Regions from separate parts of the Homo sapiens genome. Here region 1 is linked to region 2. Evidence: promoter capture Hi-C in 16 types of primary human blood cells and fetal thymus (Javierre and others, 2016). All regions are on one chromosome and are shown on one strand. The core of a region is centred on a gene start or on the middle of the fragment in contact, and the rest is flanking DNA. Distances in the headings are between cores, read along the strand shown. Region 1 holds the start of UPF2 (UPF2 regulator of nonsense mediated mRNA decay). Region 2 holds the start of KIN (Kin17 DNA and RNA binding protein).

The links. Contacts are between HindIII fragments. The CHiCAGO score rates a contact against its expected background, and 5 or more counts as called.
Region 1: a contact is called between the fragment with the promoter of UPF2 here and the fragment with the promoter of KIN in region 2, in 1 of 17 cell types (monocytes). The highest score is 5.9, in monocytes.

The regions. Positions count from the first base shown.
Region 1 is chr10:12,041,263-12,044,590 of GRCh38, reverse strand. UPF2 (UPF2 regulator of nonsense mediated mRNA decay) reads left to right here and starts at 1,782. Exons shown (of 22, transcript NM_015542.4): 1 at 1,782-1,836. It overlaps LOC105376416 (a long non-coding RNA gene), which reads left to right. Exons shown (of 3, transcript XR_930666.2): 3 at 630-792. RefSeq lists enhancers at 1,365-1,614, 2,785-2,874 and silencers at 2,055-2,194, 2,215-2,264. The HindIII fragment of the contact is 3,508 bases long and covers 1-3,328 here.
Region 2 is chr10:7,786,619-7,789,846 of GRCh38, reverse strand. KIN (Kin17 DNA and RNA binding protein) reads left to right here and starts at 1,854. Exons shown (of 13, transcript NM_012311.4): 1 at 1,854-2,027. The coding sequence starts at 1,914. ATP5F1C (ATP synthase F1 subunit gamma) reads right to left here and starts at 1,670. Exons shown (of 10, transcript NM_001001973.3): 1 at 1,584-1,670. The coding sequence starts at 1,639. RefSeq lists enhancers at 586-1,129, 1,582-1,901. The HindIII fragment of the contact is 3,793 bases long and covers 688-3,228 here.

The DNA of each region.
Region 1 (3,328 bases), core at 533-3,032, 4.3 Mb before region 2:
TCAATGCTGCAGAATAGCAGTATTCATCTTTCTCTTTTTTTTTTTTGAGACGGAGTCTCCCTCTGTCGCCCAGGCTGGAGTGCAGTGGCGCAAACTCGGCTCACTGCAAGCTCTGCCTTCCCGGTTCACGCCATTCTCCTGCTTCAGCCTCCGGAGTAGCTGGAACTACAGGCACGTGCCACCACGGCCGGCTAATTTTTTTTGTATTTTTAGTAGAGACGGGGTTTCACCGTGTTAGGCAGGATGGTCTCGAACTCCTGACCTTGTGATCCGCCCGCCTCGGCTTCCCAAAGTGCTGGGATTACAGGCGTGAGCCACCGTGCCCGGCCTTCATCTTTCTCTTTCACTATCCTTTAAATGACTGACCTATGTGTAGTGTATAAAAAATATATATTTTTAAATACAGGAAGCAGCAACACTCAGTATGAGAGGATAATTTGCGTGCTAAGAGTAAATGGGGAAGCAAACAGTAAATAGAGGCAAATGGGCAAAGGTTGAGTCATAGGGAACCTGGACTTGCCTCAAGTATTTGTGGTTGGTAGTAGTTCATTACGTGGGCTTGGGCACCAGGTGGGGCCCCCTCAAGTCAAGCAAACGTCAAGACCAGTTTCGCACCCTTGTTCCTCTAGCTCCGGACCAGCCAGAGCCACCTACTCGGATCATGTTGGCAGAACCCAGTACTGTTTCGAGGCCAGATGCACCATTTCAGCAATTCAGGAGGAAATAAGCAGTGTGGATAAACTGATACCCATTTTTGAAAGTCGGCCTGGGTTCGCATTCAGAAGAAATGTCGACGCTAGCCATTTTTTTTTTAAAATGGGTGATTTGATAACTCAGGGAAGTCTTGCCACTGTAATTTTTAAAAGTTTGCTTGCTAGAACCAGGTACTTTCTAAGAAGTGTATGGAAAAAGCCTTGATTCTTCTTCGCCCTGGGTGGTTTTTACGTCGAACACCTAGAAGTGCTTCTGGAAATCCCCCCGCAGGACTTTCGATGTCTTTTAGGGCATTCTTAAGACTAGACCCATTCCTAAGCGACTCCCACCTCCCAAACCAGCCATATGGTTTAGTTTCTCCAGTTTCCAATTTTCTAAATCTTCAACGTCTCCCCTCGAATTAGTCCAATCAAACTTTCTCTTCTTAGACCTCTTCCTTAGGTTCGCACCAGGAAACGCCCAGGAGAATCACGTGGCCGGGCTTGTCCTTAATGGCGCTCCGTAACCCTCCCACTATTCCACCACACTTCCTCGCCTCCCGTGAGCTCCGCCCCGCCCCATTCGCGCTTCCCACCCCCATCCCCCGCGAAGCGCCTGCGCCTGCGCAGCTCCAATTCAGGCGCTTTCCCTTTCCTGGCGACCAATCCACTTCCTGCCTCGGGTCCTCGGAACACTCCACCCCTCCGCTGGGGCCCTGGTTTGAGGTGCTGGTAGTGGCTACCTTACGTATTGCCAGTCTGAAAAATTCGCTCTTCTCATCGACTGGGGAATTTGAAAGAGCTGTTAAGTGAATGGCACTCATATGAGCCTTTGCCCCGGACCCGCCACCCCAGAGTCAAGCTGAGGGCATCGGCATGCCGCAGGGAAGACGATCAGGACTGTTTTTAATCGGGCAGTCGCGCGGATGGCCTTTTCCCTCTCGCCTCCTTCCGCCCCGCCCCCACTCTCAGCCCGGCCGCGCTGGTGAGTGGCGGGCGGGAGGGCTGGCGGGCGGAGGGAGGAGGGGGAGCTGAGGGAAGGCGGGCCCTCGGCTGCGAGATAGGTGGGGGGAGGGGAGGGGAGAGCCCGAGCGCTGGAGTTGGTGCTGGGAAACCCGGGGCTAATGTTGACAACAGGCTCGAGGTGAGTCCCGGGGATCCTCCTTCCCCTCCGCTCCAACGATCGGGAGGAAATGGGGCTGGGGGGCACCGGCCTAGACTCCTACTCCCTGGGGGACCCCAGAGGCGACTCCACACTCCAGCTCTCCGGGGTCGGCGAGCAGTGGAGGGACCGCGGGTCCGGCGTCGTTCTCCTCAGACCCCCTGTCTCCGAGGCTCCCATCAACGCGGGAGCCCCCGGGCCGGGCCATGCTTGGGGGGCGGTGGAGGAGGTGCCTGCCCCACATGCCTGGGCCGGGCCTCGAGACTGGAGGCGGGGAGCCCGCGGTGGAGGGGCGAAAGTGTTCGGGGGCGTGGAGGAGAGCGAGGGGAGGTCGGGGGAAGCTCCTCGAGAGCCGGGAGGGAAGCGAGGGCGAGAAAGTGGGGAGGGCGCGTGTGTGGGAGGCTGCGGAGTGGGGAGACCGGCCGGGAAGGCTTCTGTGGCGAGGGAGTGTGGGGCGAGAAGTTGGGGTTGGGGCAGCGATGGTCCGCGAAGGTGACCGTGGATACCTGTGGGAAGGGGAGTTGTGTCGGGGAAGTGTGGTGGGTTTAGAGGTTCCTACACCACCAGAGCAGGGGTTTGTAGGAGAGGTATGTGTAGGGGAAGGGGCTTGGGGTGTATCTGGGGATGGTGGGCATGGGCTGTTTGGTTGACTTCCTTTTAATCACATAGGCTGGTTGATTCTTCACTTTACCTTCACCTCTTCAAGGCGCCAAGCACTCTCTTCTTGCTAGGACTGTTGGACTAAGGAAGTGATCACAGGATATTTGGTCCCCAGGTTGGCAGAGCAGAGCCAGCTGGGTCCACGCTGGGGTGATCGGACCTTCAGCTCTCTTGCTCATCTTAGAGGACTTACACGACACGAAACGATGCATCAGATCAAAGTGAAACCCTCGCTGACGCTTTATCTCATTTCCATAGTTCTTAGGTGTTCCTTAACATCGTCAGTCTCCTCATTTGTGAGCTGGTACAATTTCTAACAGTTCTTAATACGTCCTTTATACTAAGGATGTTCTTTAAAAAATAAAGTCAGAAACTGGGAGATAGTGTTCCTGTGCTGTTCTGTCCTGACAGCATTTTGAATAAGAGAATTGAAAGGTAAAACCGCATTCTCTCATACTGGAGTGTTTTCGGAGCACTCTGATTGGGATTTCATACATAATCCATATGGTACTTTGCAAGGGAATGTCTTTAAAAGGGAAACACCCCCTTTTGTGCCCTCTTCCCCCCAATACACTCCATTGGTACTTCTAGTAAATTAGTTTTACTTTCTTTTGGAAGTTCAGAATGTATTTAGAATACCAAATAAAATATACAGTTCAAGTGACAGGACACTATTTTGGGAGCTAGGAAGGTGGTTTTAAAGCATGGTTTCCTTTTAAGGGTAGTCTGAATATAATTGTATTCAGCAAACTAATTTGTAACAGCTAATCGGATTCCAGTGAAAAGATCACGACTTTTTCTCCTCACTATCTTG
Region 2 (3,228 bases), core at 605-3,104:
TATCTTACAGGTGCTTTAAAAAAAGATATTTCTAAAATTTTTTGTAAAATATTGTCTTTGTTTCAGAAACTATTTCCACTTTTTTAAAGATCAACTTAGAAACTAAGGTTGTAAAAATACTGACAGATAACATTAATGCGTGGCAAGAAGGTAAGGCCAGGAGAGCTGATGTTCGCAGAGCACCACTGCATGCCAGGCACTGTCCCAGGAAACTGACTGAGACCTTATCTATTTGCTCACCATCACATTTGGGCACTTTCCAAGTACCACCGGGTGGAGTGGAAGCACTCAGCTAATGTCTGCTGAGTGGTTAACAAGTGGGACAATCTATACAACTGAGAATTCAACTACAGTGACCTTTTAATTCCCATGAATGTTCTTTTTCCATATTAGAGAAAAAAAAATCTGACTTCCAAGGCCAAGCCACCAAAAATTTTATGTGGCTAATTCACATCAGATATCATTCTGAAAATCTCGTATATTACTATCAGTTATTTGCTTAATGAAAAACCTATTTATTTCAACTAATGCTTTATGGTCCCTTCATATAAATTAGGATACGAAAATCTAGTTTAGCACTGTAGCGCCTTAGAAATCCTCCACACTGTTAAGAGCAGGGAATTGCTACGACACAGCCTAGAATCCCCTTAGCAGCGTGTCTGGAATTCTTCCAGATTCCGTCAAGCTTCAAAACTGAACAGCACCACCCACAAACCAACTTTTACCTGCCCATTCCCGGGCCTTCTAATATGCACTTCCCCCAGCCCAGGTCCCCCTACCCGGAACTAATGTTTAAAATTCTCGAGGCTCGTGGCACCCTTTAGTTGCATGTCAGTTAACAAATGCCACTTAAAAGCCCACCGAACTCCTCCCCCAGGACCTGGGGGCAATTTCATGACCTTGCAGGGTTACGGTTTCAGCAAGTGGTTTCAAGGTAGTGCTAGGTGTCCTTCCCTTCCCCGCCCTCAGACAGATCTGTACGGTCCCTTCTGCACCAAAACCACCCTCAGAGGCATCTAGGATGTTCGCCTTTGCTGTTGCAGCACCCAGCAAAGCGTCTGCAACACGGGAGGTGCTCGACGGCCGCGCTCTCTGACTCGATCGAATCTTAAAGGGTCACTCTGTCCAGCACTACAGGGTTTCAAAGGGCGTCAAGGACAAAAAGCACGACTTAACCTTCCCCTGGGCTATTGCTCAGGCTCCCGTCACCTTGCAGGCCCTGAGACTGGGGGCCTGGCTTGCAGTGGAAGTGGAAGCTCAGGAAGTGCTGATTAGCTGAGGGAACTCAAGACCGCCCAGACGTCAATTTGGACTCAGGCCGCAGTCCCGAGGTCCCAGGTGGCCCTCCGACCTCAGGGAACCGGGCGGGACCTTGCTCCGCCGGAGCCCGGCCCTGCGCACACCTTGCCCGACCTCAGAGCCGCTTCCTGCAGCCCCCGCTACCCGGCGCCTCCGACGGGCCAGGGGCCCAGCTAGGCCCTGCGACCCCACATCTGCCCCCGCGCCCATCTCCTCCTCCCTGCCCCGTGCCCAAGCTCTTCCATCCCTTGCGGTCCTGCCGATCTTCCCGCAAGCTGCCATACCATTGCGGCTGCAAGGTCCAGGCCGACAGCCCAGCGACACCCGCGCGAGAGAACATGGTAGCCACAGCCCTGCTGAAGGTCGGTCAGGCAGGCCTCAGCGCGCATGCGCCGAAGCTCCCCAGCGCGCCCCTCCCACCTTGCTCTCTTCTTCAGTCTCGTTTCTTCGCGCTACGGCGAGGGGAGTCTCGCGACCGTTGCAACCCAGTCTTCCCAGGCCCCACCTCCTTCCGCCTCTCAGCTGGGATTTGTCCCGCCCACCGCCGCCAGCCCGGTTCCGTTTCCGGCTGGCTGAGTACTGGGGTCCAGAAAGTGATCGCTGCCGTGGTCGCCATGGGGAAGTCGGATTTTCTTACTCCCAAGGCTATCGCCAACAGGATCAAGTCCAAGGGGCTGCAGAAGCTACGCTGGTATTGCCAGATGTGCCAGAAGCAGTGCCGGGACGAGGTGAGTGGGCCCGGAGTGGCCCCGTCTTCCCAGGAGGGCCCCTGGCAATCCAGGATCAGGTCCTGGACGCGGGGCTGAGGGCGCGGGGCTGGGGCTCCCGGGGTCCGGGTCGTGAGGCTTCTGAGGTCTGCAGTGGGCGAGTCAACTACTCAGCGCACGAGAGCCGTCCCTCCCCGCAGCCCCCGGGCCCAGCGGGCAGCCTGTGTTCTGCGACCCCTCATTCCTCCCCAGTCCGATCCCCACCACCAAAGAAATGAAATCAGAAAAGGTTTTGCACCCCTCACAGGGGCGGGGATACTGCAATACTAGACGCCCGGGCAATGCCAGTAACAGTCATCAGCTCTTACTTGACTTGACTCTTAAGAGAAACAGGGTGGTTAGGATTCACTCCTCTTTTGGGATCAGGTGAAAAAGGAGAGCTAAGCTCTTCCACACTACTCATCTAGCAAGCATTTATTGAGCACCTACACTGTACCGGGCACAGAATAATATTGTGGTTAAAATTATGGATTTATCTGGTTTATGGATATATCAGACTGTCAAAATTTAAAGTCAAGCAGGGCCACTTACCAACCGTGTGGTCTTGGGCAAGTTATTTACTTATATTCCCCTTTACTTATCTGTAAAGAGGGAATAATAATTTCACCTACTTGTAGGATTGTCGCTGAGTTTTAAATGAGTGAAGTATATATAGAGTGGCTCAAGGAGTCTGGGCAGATCTCGAAAAGCCTTATATGGCTACACTATGGAATTTACACTTTTCCCCATTAAAGAGGTGGTTGATTGAATGCTGTGCAGGCTAGTGATGTGATCATATTTTTCTCCGGAGATTGGACTGGATTGGGTAAGGGTGGAAGAACACTGAGGCAATTGGAATAATCTAATCCAGTGTTTCTGCAAGTGAAGGAAGAGGTATTTTAGGTAGGACTCATACTAATATTGATACAGTTACTCTCTTTAGTTCTATTAAGGAATACCTGTATATGCATTATCTAATGTCTTAGTCTGCTTGGACTGCCATATAAAGTGCAGTAGACTGGGTGGTTTAAATGACAGAAATTTATTTCTCACAGTTCTGGAGGCTGGGAAGTTCAAGATCAAGGTGCTGGCATGGTCAGATTCTAGTGAGGGTCCTCTTCTTGGTTTGCGAAACTGCCTCTATCCTCACAAAGCAGATAGAGCAAGCTCTAATAGAAACTTC